2 separate regions of the Homo sapiens genome follow, and region 1 is linked to region 2. The links are contacts of gene promoters, found by promoter capture Hi-C in blood cells and fetal thymus (Javierre and others, 2016). All regions are on one chromosome and are shown on one strand. Each heading gives the region's core, a stretch centred on a gene start or on the middle of the fragment in contact. The rest is flanking DNA. Distances are from core to core; before and after follow the strand shown.

The links. The method cuts DNA at HindIII sites, captures the fragments that hold promoters and counts their contacts. A CHiCAGO score of 5 or more calls a contact.
Region 1: a fragment that was not itself captured here is called in contact with the fragment with the promoter of COMMD3 in region 2 in 1 of 17 cell types (neutrophils); the score reaches 5.3 in neutrophils.

Annotation. Positions count from the first base shown.
Region 1 is chr10:22,704,791-22,709,348 of GRCh38, reverse strand. The region is part of intron 1 of PIP4K2A (phosphatidylinositol-5-phosphate 4-kinase type 2 alpha); the gene reads left to right. Among named protein-coding and RNA genes, the nearest start is that of PIP4K2A, 7.5 kb to the left of the region's middle. The HindIII fragment of the contact is 4,316 bases long and covers 1,134-4,558 here.
Region 2 is chr10:22,314,121-22,318,512 of GRCh38, reverse strand. It overlaps COMMD3 (COMM domain containing 3), which reads right to left and starts at 2,125. Exons shown (of 8, transcript NM_012071.4): 1 at 1,957-2,125; 2 at 518-629; 3 at 345-408; 4 at 207-241. The coding sequence starts at 2,095. COMMD3-BMI1 (COMMD3-BMI1 readthrough) reads right to left here and starts at 2,125. Exons shown (of 14, transcript NM_001204062.2): 1 at 1,957-2,125; 2 at 518-629; 3 at 345-408; 4 at 207-241. The coding sequence starts at 2,095. RefSeq lists an enhancer at 1,578-1,877 and a silencer at 2,148-2,267. The HindIII fragment of the contact is 1,853 bases long and covers 1,579-3,431 here.

The DNA of each region.
Region 1 (4,558 bases), core at 2,042-4,541, 390 kb before region 2:
CCTCAATTTTCACATTCTTAAAATGGAGATAATGATATGACTTCACAGGGTTGAGAGTTAAATGAGATACTGTGTTTAAGGCCTAGCACTGTAATTAGCACATCATAAGGATTCAGTAAATGATGCCTAAAAGTAATAAAGTTCAAATGCAGTTTGGATGGTGATATATTAAAAGAACCAGATCCCTGTTTCTCAAAATTTAAGGTGTTTATCAATCGGGGACTTTTAAAAAAAAAAAAAAAGTCTGCTAAATTAGGCTCTGCTGCTGGGTAGGTGGCTCATGCATGTAATCCTAGTCATGCATTGGGAGGCTGAGGCAGGAGGATTGCTTGAGGCCAAGATTTTGAGACCAGCCTGGGCAGCATAGCAAGACCCTGTCTCTACAAAAAATGTAAAAACATAGATGGGTATGGTGGCACACACCTGTAGCCTGAACTACTCAGGAGGCTGAGGTGGGAGGATCATCTGAGTCCAGGAGGTCCAGGCTGCAGGGAGCCATGGTTGTACAGTGTACTGTAGCTTGGGTGACAGATGGAGGCTCCCACTAAATGTGAAACAATAAAAATTAAAATGCAGTGTCTAATTCAGCAGATCTGTTGGGAGTGCTGCCTGAGACTGTGCATTTATCATACTCTCGGGTGGTACTGATGCTGCAGGTCCACAGGCTACATAGCAGTAGAAGGAAGAACTTTACCACTAAGGATTCCTCCCCCAGCCCCAACTGTATGTGATGAGCCCTTAGAAGAATGGTGGCCCCATGATAGATTAGAGAATTTGGGAGAAGAAATTGTAGGTTGGAAAGGGACACAAGCAATTTAGATTTAAGAATGTGGAATTGCAGGTGATGGTGGTGGGTGGATCCTGCAGTTACAGTACCATGTAGGATGCTGGAAAGGTGTGATTGGAGCTCGGGAGCCACTAGGGCTGGGATAGACCATTGAGACCTGCCCGTACAGAATCGGTAAGTCAGATCTCCACCGGAGGAGCAGGGACACTGGGGACACTTGGCTTTGAGGGAAGGACAGAGGAAGAAGAAACAGGAGGAGAAAACAGAGGTCGGCACAATTAGATGTTCCCAAGTGCTTGAAAGTCATGGCTGTGCTTGTGGTTGATTGCGGGTGGCTGTGAAAGCTTAAAGACTTAAGGAGTGAATGAGTGGAAGTAGAGGCAATTCCTCTTTTTTGGAAGGTAAGTAGAAGGAAGGTGAAAGATGCCATTTTGTTAGGAATCCCTGGGGAGTTTCCTTGAATCCGTCTCTTCGTTTCCATTCTCACTTCTGTCACTCCTAACCAGATTTGTTTCCCTCTTTCCTAGACTGATATTAAACCCCCCTAGCTTATTTCCCTGTGTCTGCCTTTATCCTCATTTCTTTTCTTTTTTGTACTAGGAACTCCTATGGCAGTCCAGTGAAGGCCATAGACTCCTCAGAATGAGGCTTTTAAAGGAATAAATGAAAATACAGAGGATATGTCCTAGCAAGTTCAAGGATCCTTTTAATTCTATCCATGGACCACTTGGGAGTTCATGGAACCCCATCAAGAACCCTTGCAAGAATAAGATGGGGATAGTGTGGGGTGAGAAAGTGGGGAGAGCACGCAGCAGCCAGGAAGAATTCTTGGGGGGGAACACGCATAGGCTGAATTGATTACCCGCCTGGGTCACAGTGCCTAGTACTTGGGATTCACAACGGTACCGTTAACCACTGAGCTGTGCTGCCTGGGCCAAGCTCAGGAATCATTCATTTCTTTGAGTTCTTTTATTTTCTTAGTCTTAAGAGCTGTTCTTCTTGGATGGACAGAGTATTAGCTGTTAACATGGGAGAAAACTACTTGAAAACCAGTTTTTCCCTTCATAGAAAGAAAATCATTGTTAATGTTCAGAGCATGTAGGGAGAGAACCAGTACATAATTTATTTAAGAAAAATGTTGTAGGGAGTTTTAAAACAGTAACTTACCTAAAGCTAAGCCTCACAATTCTAAATCTTTATAGTTTTTCAGCTACCTGGGCACAGTGATTAAGAGCTCTGGAGTCCTTGTTCGGTTGGCTATGTGACCTTGAACAAGTTATTTTGCCTCTCAGTTCCTTGATTATAAAAGGAGGTAATAATGGTACCTACTTTGGAAGTTTGTTATATGGATTAAATCAATTCATACTTGTAAGATGCCTAAATAGTTGCTGGCACATGGTAAGTTCTTAATGTGCTAGCTGTCATTATTACTATCCTTTAAAATAGAGACAGGGTCTTGCTGTATTGGCCAGGCTGGTCTCAAACTTCTGACCTCAAGCAATCCTCTCACCTCAGCCTCCCAAAGTGCTGGAAATAGAGCCTTGAGCCACCATGCCTATCCTATTTTTTTTTTTAATATCTTAAATGCTAAGAGGTAGCAAATTATCAGATTGTATGCTAAATCAATGGTTACTTTATCCTGTTTTGTAGTAGAACATCATCGTTGTTCTTGGCATCCTTGTGTATTTTTGAGTTATGAATTATCATTTTAGAATTACCCTTGTGCCCTTGCTTTGCTTTCTGTATCTATTTTGTTATGTTCTTTCTTGTATTTTTCACACTTCCACTAGCGATTAGGTTCTTTGAAGTGTCAGAAATCTAATTCACATCCATTAGTTGCAAGTTATGTCAGCTATTGACTTGATATTTCACCTTGTCTTTAAATATGGAGACACTGCAAGATGCTTCAGATGCAAAATGAATATATTGTGGACCTTGCTCTCAAATTGTGCATAACTACAGGGGACACAGACGTAAAATAAATATATGTGTAAATAACTACAGTGTCCAGAATGCTAGGGGTGGAAGGTATTAAATAGACCGTGCAGAACATTGAGCAAAGGCATGACGTCGGTGAAGGGCTTAGACATGAGGCAGTTTGGGAGAAGAGCATTTCAGGCGGAGGGGTCAGCTGGTGCAAAGGCCGTGAGGCTGGTGTTTGCTTGGCTTGTTATGGCAACTGCAGGAAAGCTGGCATGGCTGGAGCACAGCAAGAGGGGGATATAGTGGTAGGAGATCTGCCAAGGTGCTAACCAGGACTGGATCATGATTACTTCTGCCTGGGGGACTTGGAGAATCCTTGAGAGGAGGTAACAATGAGGAGGACCTTGAGGATTAGATAGAATCTCCCAGCTGCAGAAGATGGGTGATATGGTTTGGCTGTGTCCCCACTCAAATCTAATCTTGAATTGTACCCATAATCCCCAGGTGTTGTGGGTGGATCAGCTGGAGATAATTGAATCATGGGGGCAGTTTTCCCCATCGTATTCTCGTGATAGTTAGTTCTCACGAGACCTAATGATTTTAAATAAGGAGCTTCTCCTTTTGCTGGGTGTTCATTCTTCTGCTTGCTGCTGCCATGTGAAGAAGGATGTGTTTGCTTCCCCTTCTGCCATGATCGTAAGTTTCTTGAGGTCTCCCCAGCCCTGCAGAACTGAGTCAGTTAAACCTCTTTCCTTTATAAATTACCCAGTCTTGGGTATTTCTTCACAGCAGCGTGAGAACAGACTAATACAATGGGGAAAGGCATATGCAGCTGAGGGTCCGACAGCGGGCAAAACCAAGCAGAGCGGAGAATGTGAGTAGTTGGCTTTGGGTGTGGCCACAGTGGCAGAACCCAGTAACATGTTAGAAATGCAGAGCTTGGGCCTCTGCAGACCTGCTGGAGCAGAATGTACATTTTAACAAGACATGTTGATCGTCAGCATATTTAAGTCTGAGAAACACCCATCAGGGTAAATCTTTGGTTTCAAGCCCTGAGATTCCTTAGATGTGCCTCAGGGGCTGGTGGGAGGGGGCCAAGCTGGTGGGGGAATTTAGGCCTACCTCAGTTTCCTCCAGAACAGCCTTGTTTTTGTCCTCATTGTCATCTCTCTGTCCTTTTTTTTTTTTTTTTTTTTTTTTTTTTTTTTTTTTAACTGGGGTACTGAATATAATACGTAAAGGGGGTAAAAAAGATCCTGCAGCCAAGAAAATTGAAAACCACAGAGGAACATAAAGGGAGTGTCAGGAGATGGTTGAAAGAGTAGTTTGAGGCCACCTTTGAAGGGCCAAGTGGTTGATGTTTGCCAGAGAAAAGCCAGCAGTTCTGACCAGGGTTACTTTAAAATTTGCCACAAATCTCAAATGACACTCGACCCGGAAGTGTTACTGCCTCCTTTAATATGTTCTCCACTCTCTGAAGTCATTTCTTCCTTTTCACTTCTCCTTGAACTTCACCTAGTGTCCTGTCCCCCACTTCCCCCACCCCGTCCTTCCCTCAGCATATAACCTCATTTAGAAAGCATTGAACAAATAGAAGCCGTCAGCTTCCACTCTTCCCACCATCCCATCTAAATTTTGGACAGCTGGGTCCGTCAGTCTACAGACATGCTGGAGGGGCTGCCCTGCCTGGTTTTGTAGCTGCTAGCTATATATGGCAATTTAAATTTCAGCTAATAAAACTTAAAATTCAGTTTCTCATATCAAGTGCTCACTAGCCACATGTGGTTAGTGGTTACTGGATTGAACAGTGCAGATATAGACGATTCCCACCATTGCAGTGTCTTCCAC
Region 2 (4,392 bases), core at 876-3,375:
TTTTAAATTATGAATGGTAAAGGAGCATTTCAAAATCATCTCAATAAACGATCTTTAAAAACATGAGCTTAACTTCAATTGCTTGACATGCCCTTTGGCTCCTTTTCTTTGGGTCAAGATCCCGAAGATCTTGTTTCACACCAACACTCTCCATTCATACCTGCAAGTGAAAAGTGCCTCAGCTTGACACCTTATACAGTACCTACCTTCCCAGTAGGATTTCTAGGGAATTCTTATTATTCTGGAGAGAAAAAAGAAAGCAAGAAAGAAAGAAAAAAAAACATCTTTACAAACAAAGTAAAAGAAAAATAGTACTGTTAATTAAAAATTTTAAAGTAAGTAACCTGATATTCCGTGCAAAACAGTTCTATTCGCTCTCTGTCAAATTTACAGTCTTCTAGATAAGTGCTAGAAGAAAGAAAAAAAAAGCCAAAGTTCTGTCTCCATTTTTAAAACTGAAATTGAAATCATTAAGGTAGTATTTGAAAATAAATGGATATTTAAATAAATCCTGTACCTTAGAGTTGACTTGTCAGCTCGGTGCTTTCCTGCCTCTAGTATGTAAGTTGCAGCTGCTGCATGACAATGTTTTAAAACCACTGGGTCGATATGTTTCAAGTCTGGATGATCTAAAATAAATTAACTTCCAGTGATGCCTATGATAATAAATTCTTTACAGTCATGTTCCAAAAAGGATATTTTAATTTGGGTTTAAAAACCCTTTAACAAGATTAAAAACATCAACTATAAGGACAGTCAATTATAAGTAAATGAGATGAGCAACAAGATCAAGTGAAAAACAATAAAAAGAACACAACAAGAACTCTACTATTACTAGCTTCAATTAACTTATTTTGCCTTAATATTTTTACTATTAAAAAATATTATAGCCCCCAAAGAAAATATAACAATGCAATGGTCATTCTAACACTGGAGTAAATTCAAAGGAAAAACAAGATAAATATTTTACATTGTGTCAATTTTAGAATAAACTTCCATCCTAAAAATGATGAGTTTAGGGTAACCGGCTCCATGAACAAATACATCAAGGGGGTAGAAGGTAGGGCATGAGTTCAGAATATAAGATACAAATTTCAAAATTATATTAGTACTTTCAGGGTTTGACAGTCATTTTTTTTTTGAGATTAACCCAGGTGGTGGTTACTATTTTCGTTTAAGAACTTCCACTTTCATACTTTTTGTACAAGTGTTTAGTTCATGAAACTACAGAAAAAAAACAAAAATTTGAATTGTTGGGATATTTATATTTAAGAAAATCATCTAAAAGCGATCGGTCTTAAAATATGTCTTCAATCCATACTGACACTGCACCTCCGCAGTCACTGACCGGATCGCTTAAAAGACACTCGCATCCTGGTAACTGGGGCGGAACAAAGTATTGTGCATCATAGTTTAAGGTTCTAGGCGTAGAACCTGTGTAAACATGCTGAACTAGAGCGCTGGAGTGATCATAGCAACTTGAGGTATGCTCTAAGTTGGCAAATGTCAACACTGTCTGACCTAGTAATTACTTCGGAAACAGACCCTTAAACCTTTGCTAGCCTAGCCCTGGAAGCTTGAATTGCAGGGAGCTCCCCAGATGAAGTCCAACTGTCAAAACAGCCGCAGCCTCAGACAAGGCTAAACACCTTAGATGTTTAGGCCACAAACAAGACTTGAACACCGGCTTTACAAAAGAACAAAGAGACTGGGAGGGAAACCGGGCCAGGAACGTGGAGTTGGCTCTATGCAGGTGCCAAGTGGGGCCAAAACAATGCTCAGAGTCTGCTCCGAGTCCTGGCAGAGCCACGTCCCCAACACTCCGTCCGGAGCGAAGGGCAAAGCCCGGAGACTTCCTCTTCCCGGGGCTTTCCCCTTCTCGCTCCGCCGGCTCCTCTTCTCCGAGCGCCCCTCCACCCCGGCGGATCCAGCTCCGAGCCGAGCCGAGCGGCTTACCTAACACGGCCTCGTCCGCCTGGGCGTCCAGCAGACTCTGGAATGCCGCCCGGAGGAGAAGCGTGAAGGCGTTGGAGTCGAAGGAGCGGGGATCCGCCAGCATCTGGAAGCCTTTCTGCACAGACTCCGAGAGCTCCATTGTGAGCGCGCCGTGACCTTCGACACGCACACCACGTGACACGCGCCGCGCGCTCAGCTGATGCGGCCGCGCGCGCACGCGGCTCGGGGCGGCTGGCGGCGGCGCGGGCTGCGGGGCCTCCCCGCCCGCCTCCGCGCCCGCGCGCGGGTCCCGCGCCCCCAGCCGCCGCCTACGGCCTCCCACCGTTTCCGTCCAGCTCTCGCTTGTCCAGCGCAGGCCGCGGGAGCTGCCGAGCCTTGGCGAGAAGGGCGGCCTCGGGCGTTTTGTGGACGCGCTCGGCGCTTTCTCCTTGGTTCGGCGCTTACCTCGGACGGCCACCAGCTCGGTTCCCTGAGAGACCCCGGGGAGACTGCGGACGGTGTCGGGATCCCGGCCCCCGCCTCCCGCAAACGGCGTCCTCCCCGCTCCTCGCTCTGCGCGAATCCTGCGGGAAGCTCCGATCTCAGGCAACTGGATTTTGCTTTTGTGGTTTTTTGTTTGTTTTGTTTGTTTTTTAGCTCACCAGCTTAACCTCGCAGCACTGCCCTTTTATGAGACTGTAAGACATCTAATTATGTGATTCTTGCTTATTTTTACTTTTTTTTTTTTGTCATTTCTGGAATACGGCAGTAGTGTCCTTCCTGCATGGGGGGTGTGTACACATGCACGCATACATAGAGTTCCTGTATGCACTGCACTCCAGCAATCGGATTAATAAATTATTCATGAACAGATTTGACAGGATTATTAACAATTTTATATGCCGCTGCAAATAAAGCCAACTGCCATACACATTTTGTGCTACTCACCACATCTATGGGTCCCGTTTTAGTTGCTCTATAGAATCTGCATAAATACGTTTTTATTAAACAGCTACCTTAGTAAAGTACAGTTAGGAATGGCAAGATCTTTATTAGAAGTGAGTTACTGTTTAGGATGCTCATACCTTTAAAGATTCAAATACTGTATAAAGTTTAACTTCCTCTCTATTTCTACGAAGTTGGTTTAGAGAACAAGAATGATTCTTTAAAAAACCCGTGAAGCAAAGTAGATTAGGTATTTTTAATCAAAAGCACTTGAAAAGTTAAAAAATGCAAGTTCTTGAAGGGTGGAGGGAAGGGATGCGGAACAACAAAGATGTTTTAGTCTTCAGGAGCGATTATTTGCAACATTAGACCCAAAGTGAAACATTATTTTCTTTTTCTAACTTAGATGTCTGTTTTAAAAATTTTTGATGGATACAGTTGACATTTACCTTGGCACCAATACATAAAGTGTACCTCATTTCACAACAGGATGCAAATGGAGTAAGCATCAGTAACAGATTGAGTAACTACTCAGCCCTCCTTTGAAAGCTTTAAAAGGCACGTGCAGTGGCTCCTCACTCGGTGAGAATATAGTAGCAGTGAAGGATTTAAAAGTCTCCCTAGAGTCTTTATGAAACAAGCACCTATTAATCATGTTCATCTTTTCTTCCCATCACTCATCTTCCTAATTTGTTTCTCATTAGTAGTAAAATGTCAGTTGAAAAACTTCATGATACCTGATTACATAGAGAATAGTCAGGACAGAGTTGTGTAAATGTTCAACAATATTAACAACACCCAAGCTTATTATGTTTATTACACATGTATTTTATGACCTAGTGTAACGTTGATTATTAATACTCTAATAGAATTTGAGTTGATAACTCTAATACTCAATTTAGTGTCAAAAAAGAGAGTATTAATCATGGACATAGATTTTAAAATATTATTTTAAAAGAAAAATAAACACAAGTGGTTGTCAATTTGTGGGCATGAAAGTTAGGAAATTCAGAAGGATTGTTTCCATAATAGCTGTCATATTACTTTGTTGCCCATGTATAAGTACTTTCTCTTAGAATGTTTCCTCCTCTTAGGCCTAAGTATATTCATGTGTTAGGCCTAAGTGATGGGCACATTTTAAGCTCACAAAAATTTTCACCATAATGTGTTCTAATGCTAGAAAAACGGAATTTTCCTACTACAGGTATATTTATTTAAACTTCCTTTGAAGGAGGCACAGGATCGAGTGTTTCAAACGTGTGTCTTTGACAAGTCATTGAAATACATGGAAGTATGATCATCAAAAGGCATGACTACCCAGATGTAGACTCTCTTGGTTACAGCCATAAAGATCAATGCATTTTATGTTAGAAAAACTACATATGAACATATTCTGAAAGTATGAAAATACTGTTTAAAATTTTGCTTTACTCAAAACAGCATTGGAACTTTGACTAAACTTTAAAAAATTCTGCATGCTCAAAGCCAGTAAACTAAATTTGGCTTCCCAAA